4 separate regions of the Homo sapiens genome follow, and regions 1, 2 and 3 are each linked to region 4. The links are contacts of gene promoters, found by promoter capture Hi-C in blood cells and fetal thymus (Javierre and others, 2016). All regions are on one chromosome and are shown on one strand. The core of a region is centred on a gene start or on the middle of the fragment in contact, and the rest is flanking DNA. Distances in the headings are between cores, read along the strand shown. Region 1 overlaps MMADHC-DT (MMADHC divergent transcript). Region 2 overlaps MMADHC (metabolism of cobalamin associated D). Region 3 holds the start of FMNL2 (formin like 2). Region 4 holds the start of NMI (N-myc and STAT interactor).

Region 1 (3,830 bases), core at 362-2,861, 1.7 Mb after region 4:
TGTAAGAGTTTCCTCAGAAGTAGTTTTGGAATGAAAAAAATAGTTTGAAAGTATATATTAAAATTTAGAATTTTTTTTGCAACTCAGCTAATGGTATTATCTTCACAGAAAAACTATTCTCTAATAAAATATACAGTATAACAGAATGTAAGCTTTGAATATAATTGAAAAGAACAAATTATTTGCTTAAAATATGCAGAATTGTCCCATAAATCCACAGGAATTGGCCATCTGGTTTGTCTCCGTTACGTATCTATTGACTCAAATTATGTCATCTGACTATTCTTGGGGGCGGTCAAGTAAAGTAAATAGAGGGAAACAAGTCAGTATAAAAAACATTGAAAATCTCACTGTTCTTTTCATTCATGAGCATTATTTGACATACTATAATGTCGTCATGTTTACCTATGTGCAAGCCTAGAATCGAGCACTAAATCATTAGGACCAGTTCAGGATAGGACTACAGCGTTTCAGCCTTTATGATGGAATTTGAAGTGTGATGACCATTTGAGTCATTTCTGTTTCTACATCCTTGAATCCTTTGGAAATTCTTAACTGTTATCTTTCACTGTCCCATAGCTTTCCATTTTTCCCCCCAGCAAATGAAAAGTCTGCAGAAATTTGAAAGAAAGAGAAGATACAAGCCTAATCAAAGGAAGATTGATTACTTTCCTGATATTCTGTAAATCTTGACATTCTATAAAAGGAATGATAGCATCTTAAGGAGCTAAAAAGCTTTCCTTATTCATTCATTTTTAATATAAACCTGTAATTGGATCATTTGGTTTTAACAGGTTATTTGATTTAGAGAACCATACTCATTATAATTGCTATTTATAAATTCATGTCAAAGAGAAATGTATTAAGAATTGTGGTTAAATTTGAAATTGGCCAATATAAGAAATTTTTTCTATTAATCCTGAGATATATTTCTTCATAACAGTTTTTAAATAATTTAACGCTACGTTATTGCAACTGGAAATTTTAACCATTTTTAAAAGATAGTTAAAACTGCCATAAAACAGAAAAATCTCCCCAATATATTATTCCATGCCACAATGGGAAACCATAGCGCAGCCTGAAAAGGCAATTAATTTACATATTATTGCCTAGAAAAGTATCTCTAAGTGCACAATAATAGAGAGCAATTTTATTTGAAAACTCAAAACACCTTAAAAGATCAATAAAATGTTAAAATTATAATCCCTTATAGATATTGAAGCTACACACATATTCCTGTGTGTACCTTTATATCATTTCTGAATATTATTATTCTGCTCATAAAAATGCTGTACTTTTTCTAAGGGAGATTATATACTAAATTCTTCATGGAATCTTTGGGAATTTGTGCCCACACTAAAGCAATATACCAAAGCAGAATTCTAAAAGAAGCTGTTTTTAAACAAAAATGAATTGAAAGGCAATAATGTATTTATCTATTAGGAAGTTAAATATATAATCTCTTAATTTGAAGTCAGAAGATTAAAATTGCCTTTTCATTTACCTATACCACTACCCAAACCATTAAGGCAGTTGGCTTATGATTTCTACTTTGGCCTTTCTGGTCAACTGTCTGCCAGAAAGCAATGTAATTACCTCTTTGAACTTTACTGCATCAGAAATAATGAGAACAATACTTTCTAAAATTCTATGACTTTACAGAGTATCTAGAAGACTCTGTATTTCATTATGTTGCTTCAACATAGTTGATTCAAAGTTCAAATAGCTTTCTAATTCTGCAGCTCTTTGTGACTGTTTTATTTATCATTACCTGGGAATTACTGGAGTATTCATATATGCACTGATCTTATCATTAATTTAATGGATATTCTCTTTTATCACAAACTCTGGAGTATTCTATTAGTCTTTAGGAATAGGATGTCAGGAAGTAAGAAACTGGCTCCATCTCCATGGACACTATCGTTTCAAGTCAAAATAGAGTCAAAAGGAACCCCATCACATGCTGTAAGCAACTAGAAAAACTCAGACAAAACATAGGAAACACTGGTTTAGAGGCATTTGAAAAGAGGCATTATAAGACTGTGATCCCTGAGAGAAAGAAACCAGATGATGAGATGTTAACCTGCACCATCTTACTTCCTGTAGGCAGTTTCCAGGCAACAGCACAGAGTTAGGCAGTCTTTTTAAGCTGAAGAAAGAGAGATTAGAATTCAGGGATATTACAAAAGGTGGAGTTCGTGGGGCATGGTAGCACAGATGAAGGAGCTGCACAAAAAAGGAACTCTGGAGATCTGCAGTGGGGTCTGGAGGAGGCTTTGCCTAAGTACTGATCTGTGCATGCATGAGAGGAAATGACTCATGCTTGGGAAAAAAACACAAGAAAGGAGTACTCAGAAATATTCTTGCAGCTCACAGAGCGCTAGGAATTGTTCATGTTCCCACCAGCCAAGATGAAACAATAACAACAACAACAACAAAATTTTAAAAACCAAAAACGAAATATATAAGGTATCAAGTAAAAGCTTGAGAATGGTATTAGATTCCAAAGCACTATATAATTAAATGGCCAAAAACTAATGATAAAAAGAAAATCTTAAGATCAGCCATAAAAATAAGACACATTGTGACACACTGCAAACAAAGCAATAAAGAGAAGAATGACAGCAGACTTCCATCATAAACTATGCAAGCCAGATGTATTGAGAGGGGGAAATATTGTCTACCTACATTTCTTTATCAAGAAAAATATATTTCCAATGTGAAGAATGAATGTACATTTCTGGAAGAACAAAATGAAGAGAATTCATCACCAAAAGAATTCCACTCCAACAACGCTAAAGGAAGTTCTTTAGGCAGAGCTAAAATAACACCAGGTGGAAAATTAAATCTACACAAAGGATTAAAGAAAGCCAGAAATGGTAAGTTTGTAGAGGAATGTAAAAAAACAATTTTCTCATTTTACAAAATATCATCAAAATAGAATCGACTGTTTAAAGCAAAAATGAGAGCAGTGTAGTATGGGATTCACAGCAAACATGGAAGTAAAATACATGAGAACAGCAGCCATCAGGATAAAGAGATGGAAGCACCCTGTTGTGAGGTTCTTATACTGCATGTGAAGAGGTATAAGGTAGATTGGGATAAGTTTTTTCTAATGAAAATTATTTGTATTTTTTTTTACCTCAATATGTGACTTTTTAAAAAAATTTTAGTTTTGGGGTACACGTGCAGGTTTGTTACACAGGTAAATTGCATGTCACAGGGTTTGGTGTACAGATTATTTCATCATCCAGGTAATAAGCATAATACCTGATAGGCAGTTTTTGGATCTTCACTCTCCTCCCATCCTCCACCCTCAAATAGACCCTGGTGTCTGTTGTTCCCTTATCTGCGTCCATACCCAATGTTTAACTCCTACTTATAAGTGAGAACATGCAGTATTTGGTTTTCTGTTCGGGCAACAGCCTACAGCTTCATTCATGCTGCTACAAAGGACATGATCTTGTACTTTTTTATGGCTGCATAGTATTCGATGGTGTATATGTACCACATTTTCTTTATCTAGTCTACCATTGACGGGCATTTAGGTTGATTCCATGTCTTTGCTATTGTGAATACTGCTGTGATGAACATATGTGTGCATGTGTCTTTATGGTAGAATGACTTATATTCCTTTTAGTATATACCCAATAATGGAATTGCTGGACAAAATCTTAATTCTGTTTTAAGTTCTTTGAGAAATTGCCAAACTGCTTTCTACAATGGCTGAACTAATTTACATTCCCCCCAGCAGTGTATAAGTTTTCCCTTTTCTCCACAATCTCGCCAGCTAGACTGTGATAAATTAAAGTCCTTCGCTCTTCCGCTGA
Region 2 (3,657 bases), core at 1,043-3,542, 1.7 Mb after region 4:
TAAGTATTTATTTCAGCATTTATGAATTTACAACATTGGCAAGTGATTTGGGATTTTAAAATTGCAAATGTTCATTTATTCATATCATTGAATACACGTTGAACACATCCACATTGTATAGGATGTGGTAATTAGCTTGTAACCAGGGTATGATCTGCTATTGTTATTTCTCCTCTTTATTGGAAAAAGGCCTCAGTTTTAATTATTTTCTTCCCAAAATAAATCACACATTTGGTTACAATAATGTGTGTTTTCATTACAGTATTTTTTAAATACCATTATTGATTCTTAAGTTTCTATATTAATCTTTTTAAAATTCTTTTTAATGCAATTGAGAATTTTGGATTCATTGTAGACTTTTTCAAATTTTCTTTTATCTTTATTGTCTATTAAGTGTTGGGGTACCAGTCTGAGTATTACTTTGAAATAATTTATGTTCAGGAAAAGAAGAAGAAGGATAATACATCTTTAAACGCATATGAGTCTTGTCCTTATCCCTACTAAAAAGGTAATTCTCTCTTAACTCCTGAGTTGAGACAGACAAATAGAACTATGCCTTAACTGACAAATTTATTTTTCAATTTTAGCAATAGGTGGAAACTGCAGTACTTTACAGAGGTGCCTCATTTGAGACAGAGCTTGTTTTTACAGCATCATAAACTTCATCTTTCATTTTTGAAGCTTTTGCAAATAGGAATAGGCAGATCTAAGGAGTAAATGTAACTTCCACAAAATGAATTGAAATAGATTTTTTTCTGTTTTTTCTTCTTTGCATGAAATGCCTGTTTTGAAAAGGACTACATGGAGATAACTTTTTAATCACACCTTGTTTTAAAACCCCTAGCTTAGTTAACATGTCATTTGATAAGAGGTGTTGCTTACGATCTAGAACTAGAAAGTTTTCATTTATTTTGAAATGATGAAGTGTAGTGATTGCCACAGCATTTAGAAGAACATTTATTGAAGTGTATATATATATATATATATGCACATCATATGTGCTCAATAAATTTTTATGTGTGTAACCAGCACCCAGATCAAAACACAGAATACTCAAACACACTCATCCTGCTCCCTTCTAGGTACTACATGCTCCCCAGCCCTTGCCCTTTCCGTGAGTAACCACTGTCCAGGTTTCCTTGTACAGTATAGGTTGGTTTTGCCTGTTTTGACGCTTTATATATACGTAGACACACATACACATGTATATATACACACACACATTTTACATATATATATGAAACTGTATAATGTGTTCGCTTCAGTGTCTGGCTGCTTTTACTCAACATTGTGAAATTAATTCCTGTTATCGTATATGGTATCAAATTTGTTTGCCTAGTTTTTGCCTTCTCATTGCTTCTGAATTGGGGCAGCTTTGCCCCTCAAGGGAAATTTAGCAATGTCTGGAGACATTTTTTATTTTCATAATTTGGAGGGACATGGGGGAGTTGTGCTACAGAACTTAGTAGGTAGAGGACAGGGTTAGTGCTGAACGTCCCACAGTACAGAGGACAGCGTTACACAATACAGAATTTGGTCAAGTACCTTGCACCACTCTCATTATTTCTAATGTGTATTTTGCTTATTCAGCCATTTCCTACCTTGCACCATTCTTTAAGGCAAGTTCCCTTGAAATTTCAACATTTGCTTTAACAATTAGGAAGTGTCACTTACTGATCGAAAATGATACTTATTCCCTATAGGTGACTAAGTCTGTGCATTCTGTTGTACTGAGATAGGGTACATGGTGACGAGACTCTTTATCAACTTGCTTTTTAACAGGATTTCCAGAAACAAATATGATCAGCAGTAACTGTTAATTAAAAACTTTTTTTTCTGAAGTATTATGGCAAGATTCAGGTTTTAGAAATATAACTCAAGGAACTCTTACTGAATGATAATAATATAAAGTGGTTGACTATTATGTACCACAGAAAAAAACACCTCAGGTAACTGTTCACTTGATCAGGACCTTGTGGACAAGAAAGGATTTGTAAAATTATATATCTTAAACATAAATTTGCTACCTTTTAAAAAAATAAGACTGAGCCATTGAAATTACTATTAGATCTGTCACTGAATAAAAGTTTATTTGTTAAAGTTATGTTTTCACAAGAACTTAGGAATTTTTGTTCTTGGATGCTGGTTACATAGATGAAAATTTATCAAGCACATAGAAATTAAATGCTGAAAGAGATCTTTCAGATCATGTCATCCACATTCCTCATTTTATGGTAGACAAAATGGGAAACAGGAGCATTTGCATCAGGTCACACAGCTAGTGTTAAGACCCAGCACTGGGACTTGGCCAAGAGTCCATTAGTTATATATATTTCTTTTCTATATTCACTTCATGGTCATAATCAAGAAGTCTATTAAGTGTCTGATTAAAAATATCAAAGAGTTGCAGAATTTAAAGTGAAAGAACTTTTGGGTTAACTGATAATGCTGCCACTTCATAAACTTAGGAATTCATTACATTGAACGCTATGTGCTTTTAGTTTCTTTGAAAATTTACTGAAACATGTATCTAAAAATTCAATTATAGAATGCTAGACTTCAAACAATAGTTCTCTAGCTTCAAGTTTAAAACCTTCATGTCTTTCTTGGGCTTCTGTTACTTGTAATATCAACCTAGTCCTTACATTTGAACAAAACTCTCTTTTTAGTTCCAACTCTATATTCTCCTTGTGACTGTTGTCACAAGGAGGGTTTATCCACTTCTGCACTATTGACGTCTTGAACCAGTCTTTGTTGTGTGGGCTCTCCTAGACATTGTAGGAAGTTTAGCAGCATTCCCTAGTTTCTGCTTATTAGATACCAACAGCAAGCCATGGTTATGACAAAAATGTCTTCCGTTATTGCTATATTTCTCCTATGGGACAAAATACTTATCAGAAGTCAAATTTAACCAGGTGTTCTGAATTTTATCTGACAACTTTATCACTGGGGTTGAGAACCACTGATTCAAAGTCCTCAACTTTAACTGTACATTTAGATCCCCTGAGGGCATTTAGTACTGATGAGTTGGCCTCACACCCACATATTGATATCATTAGTCTGATGAGGTTTGGACCTAAGTACTTTTTAAGGGTTTCCCAGGTGTTTCAGTGTGCATTCAGGGTTAGAACCTCTGGTCGGTCCTAAAACTCAGTAATAGTTGGTGGATTAGAGGCATCTAAGGAAATAAGAGTAAGATTTGCTAATCTATTTAATGTATTAAGGAGCTATAGAAAAGAATGAAGGCTCTAATATTTTGCATTAAGAGAGACCTAATCAGGCCTAAATCAATTCAAGGATTTGAGTCACACTTCCTCTATGAAACCTTTCCTGGCTCTTCATCCCTCACTGGTCTTTTCCTTAATTTATATAGTACTTGGTCTCCACCACACGATTTTGTACACAGTTCCTTTATATTTTTTTGTCTTAAATCTTGCCTCCCATACTTGGAAAGTAAGGACCCAATTTCCTACTAACTTAAACACACCATTGAATATGCAGTAATAACTTTCCTGTTATCCTCTCATTCCTAACCAGGATATTTTAAAGTTTTTCATAGGGTTTTCATTGCCCTCTTAGAATACATGTAAACTGTAACTTAATTATGTAGACTTAAGGCTTTGAGCATTTTTTGTTTTTTGAGACTTTGAGCATTTG
Region 3 (3,589 bases), core at 204-2,703, 1.0 Mb before region 4:
CACAGCACAAGCCTCGGCTGGGAGGGGCCCAGACACTGTCCCAGCAGGAAAGGGAGAAAGAGGGGAGTTTTCAGAGTCCTGGATTTGAGGAGCTGGAAAGCTGGGAGAAGCGGAATGCAGGAGGGAGCGGGGGACCTGGCTGGGCGTGCAAGAGGAGGGGAGGGGTCGCCCGTGCAGTCAGGACAGCTCGCAACACGTCCCCGCAAAACTCCACATTTTTGTGGTTTAAGATTTAAGTCTAGAGGGAACGCGCTGAGGTTCTCCCCGGCCTGGGTTTCAGATGCCCCTGCTCCTCGCCAAGGGCCGGGGCGCCGCACTGCTGTGGGTCTCCGCTTTCCCTTTCGGGGAAGCTCCCCTTGGCCAAGCCGCGACGTGAGCCCTCCAAGTTCGCCTCCGCTCACCGCCCGGCGCGGCGCCCGCGGCCGGCCACATGCGCCCCATCTGCCGGGGACTTCGCAGGTCCCGGGCTGGCCGCCCGAGGGATGGTCCGCAGGGGCTCAGGGTGTTTTGTTTTGTTTTGTTTTGTTTTGTTTTTTTTAAAAAAAAAGCCTAAGCGGCTCGCCACCTCCTCCTCCCAGCCCGCGCCACCTTCTCTTCACGCCCACGCCGCACCTCCCGGGCACACGCGCCGTGAGGTGCCTCTCCAGCCAGACAATGGGTTCGAGGCTGGTTGGGCAGCCGGCCCTGAGCCCCCATCCCCATCCCGGGACCCCGAGAGACTGAGCGCGGGGGACTGCCAGGGGGGTGAAGAGGAGTGCTGGGGGGCCACAAAGGGGAAAGCGGGAGCCTCCCCCTCGGGAATGGAGGCTCGCTCCCGGCACGGGGTGAAGGGGAGGGGCGGGGGTCAGCTGCGCCGCCCGGCCCGGGGCCCCGGGTCCCCGCGCCCGACCGCCGCCGCGCACTTACCAGCACGATGGCAAATCGCTCCTCCAGTTCACCTGGCTCTGGCATCGGCAGCTTCAAAGGCACGTTGTGCGCCCTGAAATCGGTCTGCTGCGAATCCATGCTCCCTGCGTTGCCCATGTCGGCGGCGCGCCGGGGCCGGGGGCTGCTCCGGGCCCCTAGCGTGCGCGTCGGAAATCAGAACAGCTCCCGGCGGTCGGCTGCCGCCCGCAGGCGCGACCTGCCCGGCTCCCCGCCCTCCGCCGCGCCCAGGCGGGTGTGCGGCGCGCACCGCTCCCTAGCAGCGCTCCAAGCCGAGCCGCCCCCCGGCCTCCCTCATGCTCTCCGCCGCCCCAGCGCGGCCCCGGCCTCTTTTCCTCGGGAGGGGTAGTTGGGGCGCTGGGCGCCTATGTGCATGGTGCTCCGCTGGCACACCGCCCCCTGCCAGAGATCGCGGCCCCCGGCGCGTGGTCCCTCCTACTCGGCCTTCTGCCGGGCCCGCGGCCGCCGCTGACACTTCCAGCCCTAGCCGGCCACGGCTGCGCCTGCCTGGCTAGCACCTGGAGCAGACAAATGCAGCTCCGCGCTCCCCTACACAATGCCACCTCTCGCCCGGCGCCCGGCCCCCGCCCCCGGCCCGGCTCCGCCCACTCGCCCCGCGGACTGCCGGGACGCGTAGTTTCTCTCCAAAGTGTCCGCGCGCAGAAACCACGCCTGCTCTAGAGCGCCAGGCCGGGTTGGGACCATTTGCAGCAAAGGCGATCCGTAGTCTCTGGAGATAGCATATTGTCACTTTTGACCCTCCTCACCCCAACAGTGGAATACTTACATCGTGTATATCATGTTGACACTTGGTAGGCGGGTCTGACCATGACGGAATCGAATCAATGAATGAAGGAATGCATGCCTTCTGATTAAAATTCAGAAAATCGTTGCTGTTTTTAAAAGATCTAGTTCAGTAAGGAACTTCGAAAGCACTGGCAAAGTTCTGTTTCATAAACGGGGGGGTGGGTCCATGGGTGCTTGTTTATCGTTCTTTCTTCCATATATATGTTCTTTGGTGTGATTGAAATGTTTTATAAACAGATGTATAATTTATGGGTATATATAGTCAGACCCTAGGAGCTAGGTAAGGATTCAATTCAATTTAAAAAAAAAACCTGTCAAACACCTATTATGTATGGGATATTGTGTTCCTTGGTGGGAGAAAAAAGAGATTTGCCCTGCGCTGGAATACTTGCCAATCTAGTGAAGGAAAAAATGTACACACCCATATTTCATGTGAGATGGATATAATGATAGAGTGTTCTGGGAGACTTTGGGATGATCTTTGGCTGCAGCTCTCTTATTCCTTCACAGCAGTCTTGAGCAAGGTGTCTTACAGAAAAGATTGGACCTGACTCTGTCCTCTGGGGTGTATTTCAGACTATAACTACCCGTTCTGAAACCTCGGAAATAGAAATAGCCTTATAAGAGACTTTAGCCAACTGCTCATGTGAATGTTAAGGGCATACATCTGGTTGACTTGTGGCTGAACTTCTGCAGTTAGTCCTTTCTTAGTTTAAAGCAGTGTTTCTTAATCCTAGATGTGTATCAGATTCGCTTGGGAAGCTTTTTGTTAAAACTACACACACCTTGGGCTCTGCGTATTATCAGAATCTCCCTAAGCTGAGAGCCGAAGCCTGGGCCGGTGTATTTTCAACAAGCTCCCCAGGTGATTTTGATATGCAGGTAAGGTTGTTATCCTTTTAGTAAATAGCAAGTGTTTCTGGACAAGGTAGTACACCAAGATTCAATCAAGGACATTTCATTCATCTTTATAAACTTCAAGATACTTTAAACATAGTAGACGCCCAAGAACTATTTGTGGAATTGACAAGTGACTTTTTCCAAAAGCATATGACACAAATACACACAAATACATCATGTATGTTCTATTAAACCACTTCTAGTCTTTAAAGAATGGAGACAGTATAAATAAATTCAACTTAAAATTCTGAATAACTGTAACCTGTATTTCTAAAGCAGTGTTGTATCAAAGTTAATAGCAAATGTGTTACTGATCTGAGAGAAAAGCAGGGCGGTTTAGATACACACACACTCCAAACTAATGAAAATGAGAGAGAAAGAAAGCAGTTCGGACCAGGTGAAACATTTCTGACCCACAAATGTATTTATTTCCTTGTAATCTCTAGACATATACTTTGGATCTGATTGACTCACAAAATCAGCCCACCCAGAGGGTTGCCCATCTGGATAAAAAAGGCTGGAATTCTTTTCTGCAGTTGAGAAAGCCTTTTTGATTACATTTATGTCTCCCTGCGGCTATATTTCTGCCAGTAACCAAGACCTTTTTCTCCCCTTACGTCTTATCACATCTAGTCTCTCTCATAAGCTCACACTTCGAGGGAAGCCAAGGAAAAAGTGTGCAAATCTATGAACCAAAAGAACTTTCCTGCCATTTCAATGTTTGGAATCTCTAATATTTGGTTGTTATTTGTGATTATTAAGAGGAGAAATAAACACTCCATAGGCTTGTACAATTTCTATAAGAATCCATCAAAATCTTAGGAAATTCTTTGCGGGGAGACGGCATGGAGGGAAAGGAAAGAAAAGACATTTCTATTACCTTAATTGTAGCACTCTTCCTCCCCACAGAATTAAAATCAAGCAATCATTTAAAAATGTATATTCCATTTATTATTAT
Region 4 (3,954 bases), core at 1,137-3,636:
CTACTTCTGGTATCCTACCCCTTCCAACACACATTAGACTGTATGTAATACTGGTGTGTGTGTGTGTGTGTGTCTTTATAGAAAGCCTGGGAGGAGTTCATTGCCATGTAGTCAGGGAGACAAATGTGTAACATAATATTCACCTCACATCTGTGTAGATTTACATGAGATATCCAAGGCACAGAGTGCTGCAGCTCATGTGCAACATATTTATTGAGTGCATGATAACATCAATAAATAACTTTTATATTAGGAGAGGGCGTAATTTACTAGAGCATTCCTCGAAAGGTCCCATCAGAAACTCCCCAAGATTTTAATAACTGTTCCTTGAAAAAAAGAATATATCGCTCAAATTGATTTGATAAGTTCAAGGTTGAATAAAGTTAAAATTTTTAATATGCACAAATTTTTAATTTTTCCCTGCAATACTTCTTGGAACTCTTAATGTGCCAATGTGCATTGTGAATTTCCAAAAGTGGATTCAGAATGCAGCATTTCCTAATTGTATTGGGCCATAAAATTCCATGTTCTCCATGTACCCTAGGACACAGTTTGGAGATATTGTTGAGAGTAGAGTATGATATCATTGTCACCATATATTAACTGCTTGATTTTGGGTCACCTCTTTATGCCTTAGTTTCCTCAACTGCAAAATGGGGATAATACCTTCCTGCCTGCTTCAGACAGGTGAAAAGAAATGGGAATAATACCTATATCTAATATTGTTGTTGGCAAAACAAAAAGGTTTATAAAATGTCCAGGAGTTCTTAGTAGATGTTAGCAATTACAATTATTAATAGTATGTCCAGGAGCCAACTCTTCATCTTCAGATCTCTAACACTTTGCAGAATACCAGATTTGAAGCTGAGTTAAATTCAGACTGTTAGTACATGTCTCAGCTTTAGAATGTAGGTGTCCAAAAAGACTTCCCCTCCACCTGTATCATTTGCCTTTTAAACAGAATCTGAGTCAATATATTAAGTTAGTCCTGTTCTGGCCATGGTCCTGTCCTTTAGTATCTTCTTGTAAAAAATAAAAATAAGAAGAAATGAGGTTCAACTAAATAACCTCGAGAGTTCATATTCCCTCTAAAATTTCAAGGTAAAACTAAAGTAATTCTTTCTCAAGTTGCAGCAGAAGGAGTTTTTGTATTTTCTAACTGGTCTGATAAGCACAAAGAAGTCGTTTTTTTTACTTAGAAATGCCATTTTACAGGAGGCTGAGGTGGTGGGATCACTTGGGCCAGAGCTCAAGATCAGCCTGGGAAACAGTTAGATACCTGCCCCCAGCACCCAAATTAAAAGTACAAAAAATCTGGGTGCGGTCGTGAATTCCTGTAATCCCAGCTACTTGGGAGTGGAGGTGGAAGGACTGCTTGAGCTCAGGAGTTGGAGACTGGGCAACAGAGCAAGACTCATCTCAAAAAAAAAAAAAAAAAAGAGAAATGTCACCACTTTAAACTGGTTCCCATCAACCTTTTTGATACAAAGAAATTTTACTTTTGTTAAACTATTTTAGACCACTGTATCAGTTATTATATGTGACTAGGTAGCATGATAACCTATAATTTATGCCTTGAAATAATTTTGACTCATTTTCTTCCCACATCTGTATTTATGAGCCGGGGCAGCTGTGGGGTGGTTCTTTGTGTGGGATTAAGAGACACTGCAGTTCTTGAAATAAACCAGATGTTTGAATTTTCAAAGGAAAAGTTCACACCTAGTGAAGTATTTATTTACAAGCTCCACAACAAAACAAGAGATTATAAGAAAACTTTCAAGGGACATGGGTCACAGAAACCAACAGGAACACCACAGCTTTCCCAACTTCATGGCCCCGGGGGATGTTACAAAAGACACAGAAACGCCGATCTTGTGCTGACTGTAAACATTTGTCAACTAGTGTTACAATGACTAAGAAATTACAAAAGAGTTACAATCTGATGAAGAGCGATTCCTGCTTTGACTTTATTTGGTTTCTATCCACTTTTCCAACATACCTTATAAAATACATGCAAAAAACTGGTTTTAGAAAGCGTTCCCTAAAATTAGTGTGTACGGAAACTTCAGGTATACTTCTGCTTTCCTCCGCAAAACCACCCCTTTTTAAAAATCGAAAGTGAAATTAGTTTTTTTTTCTGTTAGTGACTAATCATTGGAGACAACCATGTTTAGTATTTGAGCATTGGTTAAATGCTAAAGAAAAATCGCCGTTAAAGCAGTTTTCTTTTTCACTGTCTTTTTCTTTTCGCGGGGAACCCAGCTGTTCCTGCGAGGGCCACCTCCTCAGGAAGACCCCGCAGCTCTCCCGCGGCGCTTCTGCAGGAGGCAGCGACAGTTTCGAGAACCCGGGCCTTCCCCTCCCAGTGCCTCCCGGGGTTCCGGCGTTTCAGGCGCTGCTGTTTTCCGGGAAGGGCAGGCGCGCTGGGCCTTGGGGAGCTGCGCTCGGCGGGCGGACGCGGGTGAGTGGGGAGTCCCTTCCCCGGCTGCCACTCCCGCCGCTGGCAGTCCCGGGCTGGAGAGCCGGGGGTGGAAAGGGAGGTGGGAGCCCTCAGCGCCGACGGAAGTGGGACAGCGCCGGAGTTGAGACCCTGCTCCCCGGGAGCTGCCCGCAGCCGAGTCGCGGAGGCCACGCCGCCTTCGAGGGGGCGCACCTGCTCCTGGGCCCGCTGTGCAGTCTCTGGGCCGTCAGGGCTTCGAGCCTTGTCACTTGTTTGCTTTGCTTCATTGAGGAAATTGAAACATAAAGTTATTTGTGTTTCCTCGCTGTTTTCTCTCTTTTTTTTTTTTTTTTTTTTTTTTGAGACGGAGTCTCGCTCTGTCGCTCAGGCTGGAGTGCAGTGGCGCGATCTCGGCTCACTGCAAGCTCCGCCTCCCGGGTTCACGCCATTCTCCAGCCTCAGCCTCCCGAGTAGAGTAGCTGGGACTACAGGCGCCCGCCACCACGCCTGGCTAATTTTTTTTTTTGTATTTTTAGTAGAGACGGGGTTTCACCGTGTTAACCAGGATGGATACGATCTCCTGACCTCGTGATCCGCACGCCTCGGCCTCCCAAAGTGCTGGGATTACAGGCGTGAGCCACCGCGCCCGGCCCTCGCTGTTTTCTCCGAGTGTCTCTGGAGATAGTCCTTAGGAAAACGGATTTCTTAAGAAAACGATTCTTGGTAGGGGCAGTGTTGTGCAGTCATGGCTGGCGTGTCAGAATAGGCAAGGTTTTTCTTGAAGGAGACATCCGAAGGAGAATACTGTGTTTCCAGTCTGTACAACAGGCAGACGTTCTATTGCCTTTCTTTTTGCTGCCACGCATGCATATAGGAAGATTCGATTCTACACGGCCTGGCACCGCAGTTATATGATTGTATTACGGAAATACGGTGATGTTGATTTGTATCAGTTTTTTTAATTCGCTGCCATAACAAATTACATGGCTTTAGTGGCTTAAACACATAGGAACGCGCGCGCGCGCGCACACACACACACACACACACACTCACATACACAATTTACTATCTTAGGATTCTGTAGCAGTCCTACTGAGGTCTCACTGGGTTAAAATCAAAGTGTTGGCAGGGTTGCCTTCCTTTCTGGAAGCTCTTGGGGTGAATCCTCTTTCCATCTTCCGGAGGCCACCTACCTTATTTGGCTCAGCAGCCCTTCCTCCATCTTCAGGGCCAGCAACATTGCGCCTCTGAAAGTTCTTCCGGGGTCACATTTCACTCTTGACTCTTCTTCTGTCTTCCGCTTTCACTTTTAAGTAGCCTCATGATTACACTGGGCTCCCACAGATAATCCAGGATGCTCTCCATATTTAAAAGCAAGCTGATTAGCAACCTTAATTCAATCTGCAGCCTTAATTCTCCTTTGCAATATAAACTAACATAATCACAGATTCTTGGGATTAAGATGTGGACATCTTTGAGGGAGCCATTGTTTTGCCTACTACATGATTGCATAA

What was found. The method cuts DNA at HindIII sites, captures the fragments that hold promoters and counts their contacts. A CHiCAGO score of 5 or more calls a contact.
Region 1: a contact is called between a fragment that was not itself captured here and the fragment with the promoter of NMI in region 4, in 5 of 17 cell types (total CD4 T cells, total CD8 T cells, activated CD4 T cells and 2 more). The highest score is 14.2, in total CD4 T cells.
Region 2: a fragment that was not itself captured here is called in contact with the fragment with the promoter of NMI in region 4 in 1 of 17 cell types (M2 macrophages); the score reaches 5.1 in M2 macrophages.
Region 3: the fragment with the promoter of FMNL2 here is called in contact with the fragment with the promoter of NMI in region 4 in 1 of 17 cell types (total B cells); the score reaches 7.5 in total B cells.

What each region holds. Positions count from the first base shown.
Region 1 is chr2:149,600,074-149,603,903 of GRCh38, reverse strand. All of the region lies in intron 1 of MMADHC-DT (MMADHC divergent transcript), which reads right to left. Among named protein-coding and RNA genes, the nearest start is that of MMADHC, 14 kb to the right of the region's middle. The HindIII fragment of the contact is 1,748 bases long and covers 738-2,485 here.
Region 2 is chr2:149,566,221-149,569,877 of GRCh38, reverse strand. It overlaps MMADHC (metabolism of cobalamin associated D), which reads left to right. Exons shown (of 8, transcript NM_015702.3): 8 at 1-241. Among named protein-coding and RNA genes, the nearest start is that of MMADHC-DT, 19 kb to the left of the region's middle. The HindIII fragment of the contact is 3,218 bases long and covers 684-3,657 here.
Region 3 is chr2:152,333,038-152,336,626 of GRCh38, reverse strand. It overlaps FMNL2 (formin like 2), which reads right to left and starts at 1,453. Exons shown (of 26, transcript NM_052905.4): 1 at 907-1,453. The coding sequence starts at 1,023. RefSeq lists silencers at 394-493, 1,004-1,653. The HindIII fragment of the contact is 3,556 bases long and covers 1-2,495 here.
Region 4 is chr2:151,288,100-151,292,053 of GRCh38, reverse strand. It overlaps NMI (N-myc and STAT interactor), which reads left to right and starts at 2,386. Exons shown (of 8, transcript NM_004688.3): 1 at 2,386-2,461. RefSeq lists enhancers at 1,798-2,217, 2,278-2,357, 2,748-2,797, 2,818-2,867, 3,668-3,837 and a silencer at 2,418-2,617. The HindIII fragment of the contact is 4,870 bases long and covers 1-3,954 here.